Linked DNA regions of Homo sapiens: region 1 is linked to region 2. Evidence: promoter capture Hi-C in 16 types of primary human blood cells and fetal thymus (Javierre and others, 2016). All regions are on one chromosome and are shown on one strand. The core of a region is centred on a gene start or on the middle of the fragment in contact, and the rest is flanking DNA. Distances in the headings are between cores, read along the strand shown.

Evidence for each region. Contacts are between HindIII fragments. The CHiCAGO score rates a contact against its expected background, and 5 or more counts as called.
Region 1: a fragment that was not itself captured here is called in contact with the fragment with the promoter of ZNF212 in region 2 in 1 of 17 cell types (non-activated CD4 T cells); the score reaches 5.7 in non-activated CD4 T cells.

The regions. Positions count from the first base shown.
Region 1 is chr7:149,424,292-149,430,369 of GRCh38, reverse strand. No RefSeq gene overlaps it. Among named protein-coding and RNA genes, the nearest start is that of TRC-GCA11-1, 12 kb to the right of the region's middle. The HindIII fragment of the contact is 5,723 bases long and covers 309-6,031 here.
Region 2 is chr7:149,237,178-149,243,085 of GRCh38, reverse strand. It overlaps ZNF212 (zinc finger protein 212), which reads right to left and starts at 3,435. Exons shown (of 5, transcript NM_012256.4): 1 at 3,284-3,435. The coding sequence starts at 3,307. RefSeq lists an enhancer at 3,374-3,668. The HindIII fragment of the contact is 6,599 bases long and covers 2,601-5,908 here.

The DNA.
Region 1 (6,078 bases), core at 1,921-4,420, 190 kb before region 2:
ATGTGAAGCTTCTCCATTTAGACTGAATTTCTAAGTCGATGATAGGACATATAGGGATGGTGGCCAGAGGAGGGAGCAGAGGTCTGGGCTGGTGTAAAGGACTGAGGGGCAGTTTCCACCAAGACCTGAAGCATCAGCTGCGAGGCTGGTGCAGATACGTGGGCAGGTAGTTCCGTAGTGTGCAGCCAGCTTCACCAGTTGCCAGGCAGAGGGGGCCTGCAGGAGGACAGCTTCCCCCAGGAGGTGGAATCTGAGCTGGGCCTGCGGGATGGAGAGGATTTCCATACATGAGAAAAATGAGGAAAGCTTTCTTGGTGGGGGTGGTCATAAAAGGAAAAGTGTGGAGAGTAGGCTGCATGTAAGATCAGGATGTAAGCAGTGATGGATTAAACCTCAGCTGGATGAAAGGGCCTGTCTAGGAAAAACAGGGCCAAATGTTGGTTTGGAGTAGACTAGGGGTGCAGAAAGGATCTAAGACTTCAAGGCTGCAGACTTTGAATTGGATCTTGTAGGAAAAACCATTGAAGATTGCTGAGTAGGAGAGAGAGATGATACAAATAGCTATCCAGGGACTGAATCTGGTAGAAGGCAAAGAAATCTAACAGTCAGGTGTGGGAGAACCAGCTCAGTTCCACGGACGGGTTGCAGATAACAGAACCCGTGGGTGGAGGTTGAAGGGATGGCAGGGGAAATGGTTCTTTTGAACGTGAGGATATTTGAAGTCTCAAAGAGTTGTTAGTGGAGGAATTTGGGGAGGTATTTGGTAGAGGGCTGTTGCTGCCCTAAATTTTTACTAGCTCTGGAATTGGAGGACCAAAGAGTGCTGGAAATATCCACCCTGAGTGGAGACGGAGGTGCTGTGGGGTAGAATCCATGTGGGAGACTCAGAGAGGAACTTCATTTGTTACATGAAGTTAGCAGGACATTATGGGGTCAAATGAGAATGGTGCTTGAGAGGCTTTCTTTTTCTAGGAAATCTGGGTGGTTTTTGTTTCGTTTTGCTTGTTTTCTGAGACAGGGTCTTGCACTGTCACCTAGGCTGGCATGTGGTGGCACCATCATGGCTCACTCTGACCTCAACCTCTTAGGCTCAAGCAGTCCTCCTGCCTCAGCCTCTCGAGTAGCTGGGGGACTACAGGTGTGCACCACCACACCCAGCTAATTTTTTTTTTAACTTTTTTGGAGATGGGGGAGTCTTTCTGTGTTGCCCAGGCTGGTCTCAAAACTCCTGGCCTTAAGCCATCTTCCCACCTCAGCCTCCCAAAGTGCTGGGATTACAGGTATGAGCCATAGCTCCCATCTGAAATTTGTTTTTTAAAAGGATTAAACCAAATATAGTCAAAGATTGGTATTTCTTTTTCTTTTAACTGACAATTTATTGCACCAACTAGAACAGCCTGGTTCGTGCATCCTTACGTCTCTGTCTATTGGGATACCATTTAAAGTCTTTCAGAACACGTCATAGTATGTCAAGATTGGTTCATCTTACACGTAGCTGGGCTGCCATGACTTCCCTGACTTCTACCTCCCCTTCCTTGGCTCTGACTCCCTCCTCATGCCTCTTCCTAAGTGCCCAGCACCCTGTGCCCCCCATCGTCTCTCCCCTTGTTCTGACTTCTTGCCACCATCTTGAATCTCACTTTCCATTTGCCCTAATCTCTGCTATTGGTTCCTAAAGTGTAGATAGCCTTTGGTGTCAAAAAGACGTGGCTTTAAACTTCATAGTTGTATGGCCTTGAACAAGTTAATTAACAGAACATCAATTTCCTCATCTGTCAAATAGGGATAATAAAGTTCCCATTGTTCTGAGGCTTAAATCACAATAGATACATAGCAAAGACACTGGCAGATACTAAGGTCTCAATAAGAGATTACTAATTTCAAACAGAAGTTCAAGTTGGTAGTGGGCTAGTGTTATATCCTAAAAGAATGAATCTTTGAGAAGGAAATTTCAGTAGGCAAATGTAGATTATTTTGGTGTGAGAAAGTACAAATTAAACCACAACTATATCATGGTCCTTATCTAGGAGTGGACAGGGTTTCAGTTCACCCCTTGGCCACACTCCAGAGTTTGCAGGAGGTAGTACCCCACCTCGCTGAGTTTTCTGGTCCTCTTTCACAGTGCTTTTCTTGGGTGCCCTTAATTTAATTAGACTTGTGAACTCCTAAGTTGCCTGTTGCTGTTGGCCCCATAAAGCTGTGTAGCAGAAGGAATAACTACCATTTATTGAGAGCTTCTTACTTTGGAAGACTTTACATACATCCCTTCATAACTCTGATGTATGTTTCATTACACCCATTTTATAGGTGGAAAGCTCCAGGCTCAGGGAGGTTAAGTAGGCCCAAAGTCACACAGCAACCAAATAGTAGAGCCAGGATTTGAACTCAGTTCTTTGACTCCAAAGCCCATGTGCTTGGCCAAAAAGTTGTTTTCCTGGGGCCAGTATCGTTGTTGAAAAAAGAAAAGCCAGCACCTCTTTTAAATTATTCCATTTTGCCTCCGGATTTTTTGACTGAAGATAAAATTGGGGGAAACAAAATATATTAAACAGAACATGCTCTGTGCATTTGCCAAAATGATGAACACAGTAAGAGGATAAAAAAGAATGTTTGAGGCAGGAAAAAACCCTTAGCGCTGAGCCCTAGCATTTTATAGCTGAGAAATGAAGAGGAGAGGAGTTGGGTCCTCCAAGGTCACAGGTGGGACAGGCAGGGCTGGTGCCGAGGGGATGCTCACTGTCTTACAGCCCTGCACCCCCCCCCCAGTATTTATTAATCACCACTTGTGTGCAAAGAATTGTGCTGGGCTCTGTGGAGAAACACAAGAGGATTAGGAATCCCTGGCTGCCTAGACAGCACTTAGCATCTGGTGGAGACTGGCAGCCTGGTTAAGCCTCTGGGGATCTGGAAAGCTGGGACCATCAGAGAGGCCTTTAGGCGGCTGTCTCTGATAAAGGACCGCATCCCCAGCTTTTCTTCATTCCTCTTCAGTGGATGTAGCCTGAACCAGCCAGGTGTCTGTGGGAGACCTTTCCTGAAGCACTGTGGTGGCAGCTCCTCAGATTAAGGGATCAGGGACAGAGGCCCTCCAGGCCCTACTGTTGCCAGGGCAACATTGAGTCAGGCCAGGGCCTCTCCTCCAGCGCTCTGGAAAGCATTACTGCTGCTGAAGCCTCTTGTTGCTTCCCAGTCATACTGGCAACTTCTAGATGACAATTTGTAAAAAAAAAAAAAAAAAAAAATCAACTTTGCATCTACCATTTCTAGTTGGTTTCCTTGAAATGAGGAATTTTAGTTAAAATATAGACTTTAGCCCTTTTATTTCTGTTTTCTACAAAGGACAGCTCCAGGTTAAATGATTTCTCTAAAAAAAAGAAAGAAAAGGAAGGTGAAAGGAAGGAAAAAAGGGGAAAAGACCAGGATAGAAAGAAAGAAAAGAAAACATTAAACATAGTACTATTGATCGCAACCTTACATGAAAAGTTCTGTTCAGAAGTCAGAACTAGCCATAAGTTTATTAAGGATAATAACTAAAATCACTACAATTCATTGAGTTTTACCATGTTGCAGTCACTGTGCCAGATCATAAACGCTTTCCTTTCATTTTATCTTGCAACAACCTGTGAAATTGGTATCTGTGTCCCCTTGAACAGATGAAGTTCAGAGAGGTTCAGCCATCAGCAGCCAAGGTCACACGGCCAGAATTTAAACCTAAGTGGGTGGGAACCCCAGCTGTGTGCTATTAACCACTGTTACATACTGCCTCCCAATTTCAACATGGATCCTTAATAAAAAGGGCAAAACATGACTATTTCTCTTTGATTTGCAGCTCTCACTGTCTATGGGCACAGCATGTGAGTCTGGACCTGCCTGAAAGCACAGTTCCCTGGCTGCCTGGCCAGCCAAGCCCAGGCGACATTGGGAGACGTCCTGAGGTTCACCTGACCAGGGTAGAATAGGTGTTCCTGGGCACACTGGTGGTTAGAACACCAATCCAGCCCCCGTTTTAGACTGAGTCCTCTATACCTTAGGGACTTTGGGGAGAGCACTGTTATGGCAAGAGGCCACCTTTCTCTGTTTATTTCTGACGTTGGGACCTAAGAAGCCATTTGTTTATCAGTCAGAGGAGTAGTTGCATGAAGGAGATTATTATAAGGAAGAAATACCTGCTCCCTAATAACACAAAATACACCCTTGACTCTAATCCTGCCGGCTCAGTGCTACCTCTAAGTTCTCACCATTCCCTCCCCGCCACTACCGCATGAATGAAACTCACTGCTTCTCTTTGTAAAATAATATCTCAAAATAACTCAAGTATTATAAGACAGGAGCATCACTGCTGTCTATTAATTCAGGTAATGGAAAGTTGAATTTTAATGACAAAATGTATCAGTGAAAATGTCTATCCCTGCTGGTAATTTTATTTAAAGAATGATTATCAGGACAACAGACTGTTTCTTCTTAAAATCAGTATAGTCTAATAAGTATAAAATCTTTTTAAAAATTAAATGCAATCAGCTCTTCATTTACCTGATACACAAATAATCAAATTATGCCCTCAAAGGATTGAAATAGCTTGGATTTAAGCTAAACTCAATTAAGAAAAGTAAACAAGTATGAAAGGTGAAACTTGCCATTTTTCCACAGAAGGTACCAGCCAAGAACTACATGGTCCCATGATCAAATTTGCTGCAGGTAAATTATGCAAATTCTAAAATTTAAGATTAAAAAAATTTATTTATTTATTTTTGAGACAGGGTCTTGCTCTGTCTCAGGCTGGAGTACGATGGTGACATCATGGCTCACTACAGCCTGGACCTCCCACATTCAGGTGATCCTCCCGCCTCAGCCTCCTGAGTAGCTGGGACCACAGGCATGAGCCACCAAGCCTAATTTTCTTATTTTTAGTAGAGACATGGTCTCATCTCACTACGTTGTCTAGGCTGGTCCCAAACTCCTGGACTCAAGCAATCCTCCATAGGCCTCCCAAAGTGCTGGGATTATAGGTGTGAACCACCGCGTCTGGCGTATACAAAAAAATTTCTGCTAGGTGTGGTGGTTCACACCTGTAATCCCAGCACTTCGGGAGGTCTAAGGAGGAGGATCGCTTGAGCCCAGGAGTTTGAGACCACCCTGAGCAACATAGTGAGAATCTGTCTCTTAAAAAAAATTCTGTATATATTTTTCGATTTGGATGATAGTCATCACTATAAATCACATTAATTTTGTCAAAAAGTAAAGACACTAAGTTGGTTCCCATAGTTACCCCCTGAACAATTTAATAATAATGACTGTCCAACTAAAATTTGTATTATTTCTTTCCCACTTTAACCCAGTGGTTCCTTACTGTGTCTTGAATTAATCAATGCCTTACCAAGCCAATTTATCCAGTGATGCATTCTGAAATAAGTTTGGGAAAAAAAAAAAACCTCAAATGTTTCAGAGTGCTGCTAAAAAAGCAAGTCAATATTCAGACCAATTTAAGCCAGTCTCTGGTGTGTTTAATTCATACAGTAGACAAATTGAGAGAAATAGACACATTTTCCTTGCCCAAATTGTTGCCAGCTCTTCAGAGTCTTGAAACAAACGTTAATTGCATACAAACATGCTTGGGTGTTCATTTTACCAAAAAGATGAACTCTTATTAGTATGTAGTAATCACATAACAGAATTCCAGAATCTTATTTAAAATTCTTTGCCCCCAAATGAAAATAGCGTTTTTTTCTGGTTGTAGAAGGAATTTCTATGTTCTAAACAATAAAAACTTACAATTGAATGAGTCCCTTATTTCTCCAAGAGAAGGTATCAAGTCTTTTCCATAACTATGGAAGAAATCAATTTTAACCACCCAGTATGAGGACTTCTAACCATCTCCACCTGTGAAATTACTTGGAAGAGTTCATCCCTTCTCTGTAGAACTAAATCTGTAATATATTTTAGAATCTCTTTCAGATTCAGGACATGAAATCTTTATCAAATTTATAATGGTCAGCCAAATTTTTTGCACTTCATCTGTCAGTGTTTTCAAGCTTTCGTTTGTAGCCTCCGGAATCCCTTGTTTAAATAAAACAATTTTCA
Region 2 (5,908 bases), core at 2,186-4,685:
TTGGATTTTTCCCCCATCCTGACAATCTATGCCTTTTAACTTGAACATTTCATTCATTTACATTTATTGTAATTGTTCATTAGCTTTGATTTATTTTTACCTTTTTTGTGCTATTTATCCCATCTTTCTTCTCTACTTTCTTGTCTTCTTTTACATTAATTTTTTCTTATTCCATTATCCCCCTTTCTGATCTGTAAGTTATACGACCAATTTCGAGTTGTTTAGCAAGTATCCTAGAAATTATGGGAAACATACATAGAAGGCCCTTTAACAAAGCCCTTTAAACACTTTAGTTCTGATCATCTCTTCCTCATATTTACATCAATGCCATCATGTATTTTAATTGTTTTTAACACAACAAGAAATTGTTACGTTTTATTAAGTCACTATTTGTTTAGATTTAACCATTTCCATGCATCATCACATCTTCTCATATTTTCAGACTTTCTATTTGGGAAAATTTTCATTTTACCTGAGGTATATCTTTTAGAATTTCCTTTTCTAAGAGTGTATTGGTAGCAAACTGTCATTTTTAATTTGTCTAAAAATGTCTTCTTTACATCTTTGTTTCTGAAACATTTTTGCTGCATATAAAACTATGGGACCACAGTTACTTTCTTTCAGCCTATTGACAATATCATTCTACTTTTGCCTAGCTTCCATGGTTGCTGTTGAGAAGCTGGCCCCCATTCATTTTGCTGTACTTCATTTCAAGGTAGTCTTTTTTTTTTTTGGTTGCTTTTAAGAATTCCCTCTGCCTTAGGCCGGGTGCGGTGGCTCATGCAGTGGTAATCCCAGCACTTTGGGAGGCCGAGGCAGGTGGATCACCTGAGGTCAGGAGTTCAGAGACCAGCCCAGCCAACACGGTGAAACCCCATCTCTACTAAAAATACAAAATTAGCCAGGCATGGTGACGCATGCCTGTAATCCCAGCTACTCCGGAGGCTGAGGCAGGAGAATCGCTTAGAACCTGGGAGGCAGAGGTTTCAGGCAGCCAAGATTGCTCCACTGCACTCCAGCCAGAGCAAGAGAGCGAGACTCTCTCAAAAAAAAAAAAAAAAAAAGAAAAGAAAAGAAAAAGAAGAAAAGAAAGAAAAGAAACGAAACTATGGCCAGGCACGGTGGCTCACGCCTGTAATCTCAGTGCCAAGGTTTAACAACTTACTTTGCAATCATCTGAAGGTCAGACCTTACTTTCAGTTCACCCTTACACAGAATGTTACCCTTTGAACTCTCTGCTTCATGGGATTGGGTTAGGGAGCTTCTTAGACTTTCCATCTTAGGCTCTGAGATGTGTGTTCCATTTTGCAGGTCCCTTGAATCATAAACACCAAAGATGAATGTTTGGCCAATGCCCTCAAAGTTGGCTTCAGAACTCTATCACTTTCGAGTTTCCTCTTTCGCTTAAGTTTTGGGGCTCCAAGTATTCTTTACTAAAATACATTTCAAATGCATTTATGTGCAGGGTTTTCCAGCATTTTCAGTTGTTTCATCAGGGCACCTACTTGAGCTTACTGTTAAATGACAGACACCTGAAATGTCTGAGAAGAGAAACAGGCTCAAGAACAATTTGAATAAGTTCTACAACGACAGATTCATGTTATTTAAGGCATAGTTTGGGATTGTGGTGGACTTTTTTTTTTTTTTTTTTTTTGAGACAGAGTCTTGCTCTGTCACCCAGGCTGGAGTGCAATAGCACGATCTCAGCTCACTGCAACCTCCACCTCCCAGGTTCAAGCGATTATTCTGCCTCAGCCTCCCGAGTAGCTGGGTCTACAGGCACCCGCCACCACGCCCGGCTAATTTTTGTATTTTTAGTAGAGACCGGGTTTCACCACATTGGCCAGACTAGTCTTGAACTCCTGACCTCGTGATCCGCCCTCCTCGGCCTCCTAAAGTGCTGGGATTACAGGCATGAGCCACTGCGCCTGGCCTGTGGTGGACCTTTAAGGCTTCTTCCTAACAAGGTCTACTGACGACATGTAGGTAATTGTGGAGTGACCTGGCAGGAAGAACTGTGGCAGAATCCTCTCGCCGGACTCTAACACTAACTAGATCTTGTGGAAAAGCCAAGTCTTTGACTGGCTCAGCCTAGCTTATAGGAGTCAGATGAGGTTAATATTGTAAACATTTGTGTCTTGTCTTCCCAATTCAACTGTTAACTTCCTTGAAAGCAAATACTGTGTTCTCTAAGTCTCCCAATCTCTCCGTTCTTAGTTCTTAACGCACTTTCTACAAGAATCAAATATAGCGCACCCTGCTCATGGTCAAATTTTCCCCACAGAATTTCCTTAGCCCTCCATTCTCACAAAGATCTAACATGATTCTCGAAGTGTTTCTAGACCAAGGAACACTTCATTAAAAGTCAATTCAATTCCAGCTGCCCCTTCCGTTGCAAACCCTCTGGTGTTGTTAAATTAACCACTACTTTGAAACAGTATGGGAACAGTATGAGAATGTCGGAGCTGGAAGGAAACTTAAAGCCTTGGAGATCATCTAGCAACTACTCCAACACTCTCGATTTACAGTTAAGAAAACGAAAGAGACCCAGAGAAGCGAACACAGTTGCCTAAAATCACCCAAATGGACAGCTGAAAGCTTCGTGACTCCACAAATAGGATTTTCCTCACACCAAACTCCGTATCTTGACATTCCCAGAATGGGGATGGTCGGTGGGCTGGGAGGGGGGTGTTGGGGGGGGGGTGAAGGAGAGAGTTTGGGCAGCTCTACAAACAAAATGCAGCAACTGCACTGTAGATAACATCCGTCCCCAAGGAGAAGCAGCCCAGGCTGACTTCAACCTGTGGCTGCAACCCCCAGACAGAAATCTGCAGCACTGGAAAAACCGACAACACATCGGACCGAAGAGGAGGTGGTCGCAGAGAGGCAAGTCCTGGGGTCTCCCGGGCAGCGGGAGAGCTCACTCGTAGCGACGGAGACCGTTTCCAATCTGGAAACACTCCAACCTGGGAACGGGCTCTTTTGGCACGAAAGAGAAAATGTGTGGGCAGGGTCACAAATCCACCAACCTAAAGCAAGCGTCAGAGAAGTTTCTGGGCAAGGGCGCACGGCGCCGAGGCTCCGACCCCGCTGCAGAAGGAAGCGGAGGGAAAAAAGGGCAGAGCACTGGGGTCGCGAAGAGGAGGGTCCGCGTTCACCCGCGCCAACGGCAGCCCCGGGAAACCAAGACCCCGGCGGCGTCCAAACCGCGAAGCCCCGCCCCCGGCAGGGGACTCCGCCATCCCCAACGCGCCCTCGAGCCAGCGCGCCGGTGCCTCTTTACCCGAGCAGGCGCCGACTCCGCCATGGCTCCAGTCGCCCCTCAACACCCAGACCCCGCCTCGGAGCCCCCGTGCTGCGTTCCTGTCCGCTCGGCGCCCCAGAGCCTGTTGGAAGCCGCCGCCGCCGCCGCCGTGTTGATGCCAGGTGCATTCTGGGAGCAGCGACCTCCCCGGCACAAGACCGGCTCCAGCCGCTCTTCCTCACTGTGCAGGCTTCCCATTGTGCCCCCGTGCGGCGGGAGGGAGAACGCTGCTTGGCACTCCCGGCCAGAGTGCGGGCACCAGGAGGGCTCAGTCACTCAAAAGTCAAGACCAGGTTCCGCGTTTCAGGCAAAGCCACGGGATCCTGCTGTCTTCCGTATGCCCAGCACTCTGCTAAATGCTTTGAGGGATTCAAAAATGTGTACAACTCAGACTTTTTGCTGAGGAAAGAACATGTAATGTTGTTGGGGAAAAGAAATATGGTTCCAAAAGGCAAGTGATTTTATTCCAAAAGTTCACCTGTTATTTGGCTTTTTAGAAACTGGGAACAGTTTCCATATCAACAGTGTGGAGCGTGGGGTCAGGCCCAGGCCAGCCCTCTGTAGCCTGTTAATTATGGTAATCATGTGCCTTGGAAAGTCCAAGACAACCCTGATTTCAAATATTTCCAGTCCTCATGCTACATGTAAGACGATGTGTCTGGAATTTTTGTTGGAAAGCACGGCCACATGACCATTTAATCGCCATGTACTTAATCCCCAATACCAGCAACACTACGGCAACCATAGCTGCCTAATTTATACCATTGTCTCTCTGGAGACAAGCAATGAACTTCCACTTCACAGGATAGGCGTGAAGTGTTTCCTCTGAGAACGAAACTTTTTTTTTTTGAGATGGAGTTTCGCTCTTGTTGCCCAGGCTGGAGTGCAATGGCGCAATCTCGGCTCACTGCAACCTCCACCTCCCGGGCTCAAGCGATTCTTCTGCCTCAGCCTCCCTAGTAGCTGGGATTACAGGCATGTGCCACCACGCCTGGCTAATTTTGTATTTTTAGTAGAGACGGGGTTTCCCCATGTTGGTCAGGCTGGTCTCAAACTCCCGACCTCAGGTGATCCGCCCACCTCAGCCTCCCAAAGCGCCGGGATTACAGGTGTGAGCCACCCCACCCGGCGGAGAACGAAACTTTTAAGATCATGACTGGCTCCTTCCTCACATGCAGGGCTCAGTTCAGATTCTACATCCTCAGAGAGATATCCCCAGTCCCCCCTTTCTACAGCCCCACACCATCCTCCATCTCAATACTCAATCTCGTTACCCTGCTGGAAATTTTTCATACCATTTATCACCATCTGAAGTAATCTCTCTTTTTCACTCATTTACATATTAATTATCTGTATCTCTTCCACTGAAATGTCTGTCTACTGTATCCTCCATTTGTTGTACACAGAAGTGTTCATATTTGTAAATGATTGAATGGTGAATCAGAGTGTAAGGATATGAAATGTCATCTCAAACAGAGGCATTATTTCCAGGGCAACTAGATCAACGGGCACGTCACTGAATCATTAATAAATCTAGAGAAAGAATGGGCCAGGCTGAAGAAACCGGTCAGTCAGGGAGATCCTGTCCAGAGGGTCTGACCTAATCTCTCAGACCAACAAACTCTTGGTGTCAGATACAGAAAAAAAAAAAAATGTGTCATGGGTGAGGTGGCTCATGCCTGTAATCCTAGCACTTTGGGAGGGCAAGGCAGGAGGATCACTGGAGTTTGAGACCAACCTGAGCAAATAGGCAGACCCTGTCTCTACAAAATTAAAATTAAAATTAAAATGAGCCAGGAGTAGTGGTGCACACCTGTAGTCTCAGCTACTCAAGAGGTTGAGGTGGAAGAATCATTTGAACCCAGTAGTTCAAGGCTGCAGTGAATCACGATCGCACCACTGCACTCCAGCGTAGGCAACAGACCAAGATCTTGTCTTTAAAAATAAAATAAAAATGTTATCCTCCACAGGCACAATATCAGGACATAGGATGCTGAGGTCATTAAACAGTTCGGTCGTAGAACTCATTCCCTCTATTCTATTTCTATACTCACAAGGCAACCTTCTGACGTTGCATGTTGCCAGGTAGCTTCTGGGAGGCAACATGCAGGTGAAGCTGATGCACATGTATACCTCAGTCTCTTGAAAATGAGCATGTTTCAGCATCCCAGACTCTGAGCCTGGAAGTCTGGAAAAAGGTTCAGATCAAATTTCCAGCCTGCAAAGGAGGCAGCACCAGGCACCAGGGTTGCAATCACGTGGGCTGGTGGAGATGGTGTGGCGCCTGCAGTCCCCCGGGCTGATGAAGACAGTGTGGCACAGTGATTTGCTAAGTGGGGCTGGGGAGTGAGACCGTCTGGGTCCCTAGCCCAGCACTGCCAGTATATTAGGTTTCTCTAGACAGACTAATAGGATATATATATAATGTTATATAAAGGGGAGTTTATTAAGTATTAACTCACATGCTCACAAGGCTCCACAATAGGCTATCTGGAAGCTGAGGAGCAAGGAGAGCCAGTCTGCGTCCCAAAACTGAAGAACCTAGAGTCTGATGTTCGTTGATGTTCGAGGGTGGGAAGGGTCCAGCATGGGAGAAAGAAGTAG